Linked DNA regions of Homo sapiens: region 1 is linked to region 2. The links are contacts of gene promoters, found by promoter capture Hi-C in human tissues and cell types (Jung and others, 2019). All regions are on one chromosome and are shown on one strand. Each heading gives the region's core, a stretch centred on a gene start or on the middle of the fragment in contact. The rest is flanking DNA. Distances are from core to core; before and after follow the strand shown. Region 1 holds the start of CD248 (CD248 molecule). Region 2 holds the start of SNX15 (sorting nexin 15).

Evidence for each region. Contacts are between HindIII fragments. The study calls those that stand out against the background at their distance.
Region 1: a contact is called between the fragment with the promoter of CD248 here and the fragment with the promoter of SNX15 in region 2, in 1 of the 25 tissues and cell types used here (spleen).

Annotation. Positions count from the first base shown.
Region 1 is chr11:66,315,692-66,320,011 of GRCh38, reverse strand. CD248 (CD248 molecule) reads left to right here and starts at 2,968. Exons shown (of 1, transcript NM_020404.3): 1 at 2,968-4,320. The coding sequence starts at 2,985. RefSeq lists enhancers at 1-464, 465-966, 3,523-4,219 and a silencer at 2,770-3,039. The HindIII fragment of the contact is 8,045 bases long and covers 1-4,320 here.
Region 2 is chr11:65,025,579-65,030,064 of GRCh38, reverse strand. SNX15 (sorting nexin 15) reads right to left here and starts at 2,626. Exons shown (of 8, transcript NM_013306.5): 1 at 2,429-2,626. The coding sequence starts at 2,527. ARL2-SNX15 (ARL2-SNX15 readthrough (NMD candidate)) reads right to left here. Exons shown (of 11, transcript NR_037650.2): 4 at 2,429-2,747. It also overlaps the pseudogene EEF1A1P18. RefSeq lists a silencer at 2,495-2,664 and an enhancer at 2,514-2,808. The HindIII fragment of the contact is 29,710 bases long and covers 1-4,486 here.

The sequences.
Region 1 (4,320 bases), core at 1,719-4,218, 1.3 Mb before region 2:
GATTTACCCACGTATTTATTAACAGCAAGCCAGTCATTAGCATTGTTTCTATAGATATTAAATTAACTAAAAGTATCCCTTATGGGAAACGAAGGGATGGGCTGAATTAAAGGAATAGGTTGGGCTAGTTAACTGCAGCAGGAGCATGTCCTTAAGGCACAGATCACTCATGCTATTGTTTGTGGCTTAAGAATGCCTTTAAGCGGTTTTCCGCCCTGGGCGGGGCCAGGTGTTCCTTGCTCTCATTCTGGTAAACCCACAGCCTTCCAGTGTGGGCGTTATGGCCATCATGAACATGTCACAGTGCTGCAGAGATTTTGTTTATGGCCAGTTTTGGGGCCAGTTTATGGCCAAATTTTGGGGGGCTTGTTCCCAACATCTTTCCTTCTTTTCTTTTTCTCTCCCGCTCGCCTCTCCCCTCCCCTCCCCTCCTCTCCTCTCCTCTTTTCTTTTCCACAGTCTTGCTCTGTCGCCCAGGCTGGAGTGTGCAGTGGCGCAATCTTGGCTCACTGCAACCTCCACCTCCCAGGTTCAAATGATTCTCCTGCCTCAGCCTCCCGAGTAGCTGGGATTACAGGTGCACCACCACGTCCAACTAATTTCACAAGTAAATATATTTAATGTCAGATAGTGATAAGTGCAGAGCGAGAAAATGCAGGAAGATCCAGTGGTCAAGGAGCCCCAGGGGGCGGTGTGGGGTGGGGTGAGATGGTCAAGGACTCTGGTACTTGAGCTGAGCCCTGGAGAAGGTAAAGAAGCAGAGCATTTTTATATTGGAGGAAGAGCATTCCAGGCAGCAGGAACAGCCAAGACCAAGGCTGTGAGGCAGAGTGTCTGGAGCATTTAAGGAACAGCAATGAGGCCAGAGTTTGGAGGCAGATGACATAGACCAGGAGGCCATGGCAAGGACTGTGGCCCTTCCTCTAAGCGAGATGGGGGGCTCAGAGGGTTCTGAATGGAGAAGTGATCAGATCTGACTTGGATTTTGAAAGGATCCCTCTGGCAGGATGGAGAGGGCAAGAGAGACACCACGGGAGAGGCTGTTGGGGAAATCTAGATTGGCGTTGCTAGCCACCTGGGCCGGGGGTGGGTGGCAAAGAAGGTGTCCAGGAGTGGTCAGATTCTGGATCTCTTTTGAAAGTGAAGCCAACAGGATTTGCTGAGAGACTGGATGTGGGCTGTGGGAGAAAGAGAGGAGTCAAGCATGACCTCAAGGTTTGGGGCCTGAGCCAACAGAAGGATGAACTCCTCCATCTTGACTTTTGTCTCCTGAGAAGGGGAGTCATTCTGTGTGCTTCACATGTATAGACCTTGTAAGAAGGAACTTCCAGGCATATGGCAAGAACTTCCTAAGCCCTGGTTCTCGAGGGGCTGGCTGGGTCTGCAGGGCCAGCCTAGGCACTGTAAGGTGGTTTGCAAAAACGCACCCTGGTCTCCACCCACCACATATGCTCAGAAGACAGGAACATTTGCTTCAGGCTCCACAGCTGACAAAGCACATTTGCAAACACTGAGCGCTGTGACGCAATATCTCAGCCCTGCTGAGCTAAAAATCCTGGACTCATTGCCCTCATGTTGCAACTGAGAAAAAAGGAGACCCAGAGAGGGCCAGTGACTCCCCTGCAGTCACAAAGTCGATCCATCTGTGGCAGAGGGGGAAGCTGCATCAGGGCAGTTTACTGAAGGGCGGAACCTCTCCCCCACCTCCCCACACTGTTTCTAACTTCTGCTAAGAGTGCAGCGGGTGTGCATGGGTTAATCCGCCAGCCAGCTCCCCAGAGGCCATCCTGGATGATGGGCTCAGTGCACATGCCTCCAGAGGCCTCCAGGAAGGGCGGGAAGAGGACCCTGGCCAGGCCGAAACAGCAGGCCCCGGGGGCAGGGAGGGCTCCACACACGTGATGCCTGTGTCACATATACACATATATGTCACTGTGTGCCCCATGCCCATACATGGCCTTGCATGGGTCCCCTCACAGCCTTCCACATCCTGCGTGCAGCCCAGCCCCCACCCAGCCCCCTAAACCACGCACCCTGCCTTCCTGACGCAGGAGCCCAGAGAGGCATTTCCTGTTTAGGGGCTGCCTCCTCCCCCTCTAAGCCCAGGTTCCCAGGGCCCCAGGCTGAGCTGGGGTGAGGGGAGGGCAGCCCCTGGCCCCCTCACTCCCCCAACACCCCCACACGCTGGCCCAGCTGGAACCAGAAAGCTTGAGTATAGGGGGAGAGGCTGACGCAGGGGCTCAGTAAATAAATGAGAGGCTGAGGATGCCTGTGCCTGGGTGACCAAGCTGTTTCCATTCAGGCCGAATCGGAGGTCTTCATATGTCAGGCCATGTAGAATGCCACACCATTTTTGTATGTGCACCTAGGGTCTCAGCATGTCAGAATGTGTGTACGTGTGGCAAGGGAGTCATCTGCAAGCCAGCATAGGTCCACGGTGAGGTGAAGGGACAAACAGCTTGGCAGAGAGTGCACTCTTGCATGGGGTTGGGGGTGGGGGAGGCGCATGCGCGCGTCTGTGGGGCAAGAAAGGAGTGGGCATGAGGGTGTTCCCGTGCATGGCGAGCAGCTGGGCTGAGACTGCTCCCGGGTGTGATGGGGCTGCTGTGTCCAGATTTGGGTCTCTGAGTCTCTGGGAAGCGACCTCACCCCACAGCCCCGAGCCCCAACTTGAGGGTCACAGAGCTCGGCAGGCAGGCTTTTCCCACCCCCTGACTCTCAGCCCCATGGGGCCTGGGGCAGCCGTCAACTGCGCCTTCTCCCCTCCTCCGCCCCCAACCTTAGAGCCCCCCACCCCACTGCTTCCTGCTCTAGCGGCCCCCGGGGAAGAGGGAGCAGGGAGCTGGCAGCCGCCCCAGCCCACTCCTTACAAGGCCTGAGCCCGGCCCCAGGCCCGCCCCCGGCCCGCCCGCAGGAGGCCCCAGGCCCTCCCCCTGTCAAGAGCTGCCGCCAGCCCGGGGCCGGACCAGTCCGGGGGCATCGCGATGCTGCTGCGCCTGTTGCTGGCCTGGGCGGCCGCAGGGCCCACACTGGGCCAGGACCCCTGGGCTGCTGAGCCCCGTGCCGCCTGCGGCCCCAGCAGCTGCTACGCTCTCTTCCCACGGCGCCGCACCTTCCTGGAGGCCTGGCGGGCCTGCCGCGAGCTGGGGGGCGACCTGGCCACTCCTCGGACCCCCGAGGAGGCCCAGCGTGTGGACAGCCTGGTGGGTGCGGGCCCAGCCAGCCGGCTGCTGTGGATCGGGCTGCAGCGGCAGGCCCGGCAATGCCAGCTGCAGCGCCCACTGCGCGGCTTCACGTGGACCACAGGGGACCAGGACACGGCTTTCACCAACTGGGCCCAGCCAGCCTCTGGAGGCCCCTGCCCGGCCCAGCGCTGTGTGGCCCTGGAGGCAAGTGGCGAGCACCGCTGGCTGGAGGGCTCGTGCACGCTGGCTGTCGACGGCTACCTGTGCCAGTTTGGCTTCGAGGGCGCCTGCCCGGCGCTGCAAGATGAGGCGGGCCAGGCCGGCCCAGCCGTGTATACCACGCCCTTCCACCTGGTCTCCACAGAGTTTGAGTGGCTGCCCTTCGGCTCTGTGGCCGCTGTGCAGTGCCAGGCTGGCAGGGGAGCCTCTCTGCTCTGCGTGAAGCAGCCTGAGGGAGGTGTGGGCTGGTCACGGGCTGGGCCCCTGTGCCTGGGGACTGGCTGCAGCCCTGACAACGGGGGCTGCGAACACGAATGTGTGGAGGAGGTGGATGGTCACGTGTCCTGCCGCTGCACTGAGGGCTTCCGGCTGGCAGCAGACGGGCGCAGTTGCGAGGACCCCTGTGCCCAGGCTCCGTGCGAGCAGCAGTGTGAGCCCGGTGGGCCACAAGGCTACAGCTGCCACTGTCGCCTGGGTTTCCGGCCAGCGGAGGATGATCCGCACCGCTGTGTGGACACAGATGAGTGCCAGATTGCCGGTGTGTGCCAGCAGATGTGTGTCAACTACGTTGGTGGCTTCGAGTGTTATTGTAGCGAGGGACATGAGCTGGAGGCTGATGGCATCAGCTGCAGCCCTGCAGGGGCCATGGGTGCCCAGGCTTCCCAGGACCTCGGAGATGAGTTGCTGGATGACGGGGAGGATGAGGAAGATGAAGACGAGGCCTGGAAGGCCTTCAACGGTGGCTGGACGGAGATGCCTGGGATCCTGTGGATGGAGCCTACGCAGCCGCCTGACTTTGCCCTGGCCTATAGACCGAGCTTCCCAGAGGACAGAGAGCCACAGATACCCTACCCGGAGCCCACCTGGCCACCCCCGCTCAGTGCCCCCAGGGTCCCCTACCACTCCTCAGTGCTCT
Region 2 (4,486 bases), core at 1,377-3,876:
ATTTAAAAATTGAGCTAGGCGTAGTGGTACATGCTTGTAGTCCCAGCTACTCAGGAGGCTGAGGCAAGAGGATGGATTGAATGCAGGAACTTGAGGCTGCAGTAAGACGTGAATCATGCCACTGCACACCAGCGTGGGTGACAGAGCAAGACCCCGTCGCAAATAAAATAAAATAAAATAAAAATATAGGCCAGGCGCGGTGGTTCACACCTGTAATTCCAGCACTTGGGAAGGCCGAGGTGGGAGGATAACTTGAGGTCAGGAGTTCGAGACCAGCCTGGCCAACACAGTGAAATCCCGTCTCTACTAAAAACACAAAAAGTAGCCGGGTGTGGTGGCACACGCCTATAATCCCAGCTACTCAGGAGGCTGAAGCAGGAGAACTGCATGAACCCAGGAGGTGGAGGCTACAGTGAGCTGAGATCACACCACTGTACTCCAGCCTGGGCGACAGAGCAAGACTCCGTCTCAAAAAATATATACATACATATATTTATATATTATGTGCTTTATATTTTATATTTATTATATATAATACATTGTATTATATAATATGTATAAAAATATATCAAAGTAATGCATGTTGCTTGGTTTAAAAAGCCAATGGGAGGCCGGGTGTGGTGGCTCACACCTGTAATCCCAGCACTTTGGGAGGCCAAGGCGGGTGGATCATGAGGTCAAGAGATCGAGACCATTCTGGCCAACATGGTGAAACCCCATCTCTGCCAAAAAATACGAATATTAGCTGGGCATGGTGACGCGTGCCTGTAGTCCCAGCTACCTGGGAGGTTGAGGTGGGAGAATCTGAACCCGGGCGACGGAAGTTTGCAGTGAGCTGAGATCGAGTCACTTCACTCCAGTCTGGGCGACAGTGAGACTCTGTCTCAAAAACAAAACAAAACAACGACACAAAAAAGCCACTGGGAAGACTTATTTTTATTTATTTATTTATTTATTTATTTATTTATATTTTTGAGACGGAGTCTCGCTCTGTCTCCCAGGCTGGAGTGCAGTGGCACAATCTCGGCTCACTGCAAGCTCCACCTCCCGGGTTCACTCCATTCTTCTACCTCAGCCTCCCGAGTACCTGGGACTACAGGTGCACGCTGCCACGCCCGTAAGTTTTTGTATTTTTAGTAGAGATGGGGTTTCACCATGGTAGCCAGGATGGTCTCGATCTCCTGACCTCGTGATCCGCCCGCCTCGGCCTCCCAAAGTGCTGGGATTACAGGCGTGAGCCACCGCGCCCGGCCACCACTGGGAAGACTTATAATAAAAGGTTACAGTTCCTTGCCACATCCTCCCCACCCCAGCCCCACCTCCAGTCTATCTTCCCAGGGACAATCTATTTATTTGCTTTTTTTTTTTTTTTTTTTAAAGTTGTGTGTGTGTCTGTATTTTAATATTGATCCGGGGTCTCACTATGTTGCCCAGGCTCGTCTTGAGCTCCTGAGCTCAAGCAATCTGCTGCCTCAGCCTCCCAAAGTGCTGGGATTTACAGGCATGAGCCACTGAGCCCGGCCTTATTTGCATTATTTTTAGGCATGGAAAAGACGTAAACGGTTTGGGGAAAGCATATTTTAAATAGCTAAGATTCTGCACTTAGATCACTTTGGAAGTGTCCTTATGTGCCTGCTTTGCTTTTAGAGTTAACTAATGCACCAGCTTAATAGTCGCCTGGTTGAAAATTCTAAAAGTACAAAAAATTTACAGTAAAAAGTCTTCCCCTAACTCCTGTCCCCAGTGACACAGTTCCTCTCCCTGGGGACCTTCCTTGTTACCAGTTCTTGTTATCATTCTACAGGTGTCCTGTTTTACTGTTTCATTTTTAATTATTGTCATGGTTTCCTCCATGTCTCTCTATAAATTGTGCTTATGATGTTGTTATCGCTTCATATATCAACTCTAGCCTATCTATCTTCCTGCTGTGACCTTGATATGGCGACTTACTCCTTAAGTCCTTCTGAACTGCATCAATTTTTTTCAACCACTGATCAGTATTATTTTTTGAAAAATTAAAAATGGTTAAACTCGTTAAAGGGAGTTTATGTAACATCAAACAAACCAATAAACAAAACTTACTCTACGAGAATGGAGTACTAATATTTGGATTAAACCAGAGTTTTCATGTTAATTTAGAGAAATTCACAGCCTGATGCCCAGACACTACACTCCGGGCGTGGGCATACACGCCTTGCCTGTCCGGGAACGGCCGTCAACGCCCTTTTAAAAAAGACAGCGCCCACCCAGGACCCCGCCCCCTGGTGGTTAAAGATGTAAACTAAGCCTCGTACTGCAACCTCCCCTTAAAGGGGAAACCCATTTCTGTCGTCTAAAAAGGGAGCAGTGGCTGCACCGCCTTTCCTTAAGGTAAAACTCGGCGCCCCTCTAGTTAAAAGGGTAAAGTACGCGCTGGGCCCCACCTCACCTGCGCGGTTACTTTGTACTCGGTGTAGCCCTTGGGGTGAGTCCTGGGGTCCGACACTGTGTAGTGCCGCAGGAAGTCATCCTTCGCCTGGCGGGACATGAAACCGAGCTGGAGCGGAGCGGAGCGCCGGCCTCCACCTCCTCGCCGTCCCCACCCCTCCGGCCCAGCCTCCGCCCGCCGCCGCCTCGCCAGGCCTGCGCTCTTCTTCCTCTGGCCTAGGGATTTTGTCGCAAGTGACAGCGCTGTTCCGATCCCGGGTGCGCGGCCAAGGGAGCGTCTGAAAAGTTCCTTCTCTGTGGTGAAGCGTAAACCCAGGTCACTGGAAAGATTGGTTGGGAAGGCTGGGATCACTCGTCTCATTTCTGCCGGGTGATCAAGCCCACCCTATCCAAGCGTAAACCCTTGTCACAGACTTCCAAACGACTTCTCCCCGCTTCCTAAATCCCTGCTTTCGTTCATCCACCCAACTCTTATTGTGTCCAGTATGTACAGGACAACGTCAAATTATTTCCCTGTCTCCCTCCACAGGATTCCCTAATTCATGTTTTCTGGAAAGTAGAGGAAGCAAAGAAGGTTGGAGAAGCAGGATGGTGTCATGGGCTCTGAGTCACGACTCTTACTAGCTGTAGGAGTTTCCCTTAACTACTCAGCCTCAGTTTCTCATCTGTAGAATGGAGATGTTTATAATAGAATCTGTGTAGGGCAGTGGAGCTTTTTTGCGATGGGTTTGCTGCCAGAACACAGGTGTCGTGAAAACCACCGTTAAATCAAAGCCAAAATGGGGGTTTGGCGCGGTGGTTCACGCCTGTAATCCCAGCATTTTGGGCAGTGGAGGCAGGTGGATCACTTGAGGTCAGGAGTTCAAGACCAGCCTGGCCAACATGGTGAAACCCCGTTTCTACTAAAAATACAAAAATTAGCTGGGCGTGGTGGCGCACGCCTGTAATTCCAGCTACTCCAGGGGCTGAGCTGGCTGATGGCTTCAGCCCAGGAGGTTGAGGCTGCAGTGAGCTGCAATCACACCACTGCACTCCAGCCTGGGCAACAGAGTGAGACTCCATCTCAAAAGAAAGGGAGCAGGGGAGGGAAAAGACTCAGCTCAACATCATCATCTGATTTGGGCAAGTCCAGCACTACTGGCCATCTGATCTACAAGTGTGGTGGGATCCACAAAAGAACCATCGACAATTTTGAGGAAGCTGCTGAGATGGGAAAGGGCTCCTTCAAGCATACCTGGGTCTTGGGTAAGCTGAAAGTTGAACGTGAGAGTGGTATCACCACTGATACCTCCCTGCTGGCAATTGAGACCAGCAAGTACTATGTGACCATCCTCAATGGCCCAGGATGCAGAGACTTTATCAAAAACCTGACCTCAGGCTAATTGTGCTGTCCTGATTGTTGCTGCTGGTGTTGATGAATTTGAAGCTGGTAATTCCAAGAATGGGCAGACGCGTGAGCACACCCTTCTGTCTTACACGCTGGGTGTGAAACTAATTGTTGGTGTTAACAAAATGGATCCCAATGAGCCACCCTAAAGAGGAGAGATGGGGGCCGGGCGTGGTGGCTCACGCCTGTAATCCCAGCAGTTTGGGAGGCAGAGGTGGGTGGATTAGGAAGTCAGGAGTTCAAGACCAGCCTGACCAAGATGGTGAAACCCCGTCTCTACTAAAAATACAAAAATTAGCTGGGCATGGTGGCGGGTGCCTGTAATCCCAGCTACTTGGGAGGCTGAGGCAGAGAATTGCCTGAAACCAGGAGGCAGAGGTTGCAGTGAGCTGAGATCGTGCCACTGCACTCCAGCCTGGGAGACAGAGGACAGAGTGAGACTCCGTCTCAAAAAAAAAAAAAAAAAAAAAAGGAGAGATGGGAGAAATCATTAAGGAAATCAGCACCTACATTAAGAAATTGGCTACAACTCTGACATAGTAGTATTTGTGCCAATATCTGGTTGGAGTGGTCACAACAGGCGGGAGCCAAGAGCTCACATGCCTTGGCTCAAGGGATGGAAAGTCACCTGTAAAGATGGCGATGCTGTGGAACCACGCTGCTCGGAAGCTC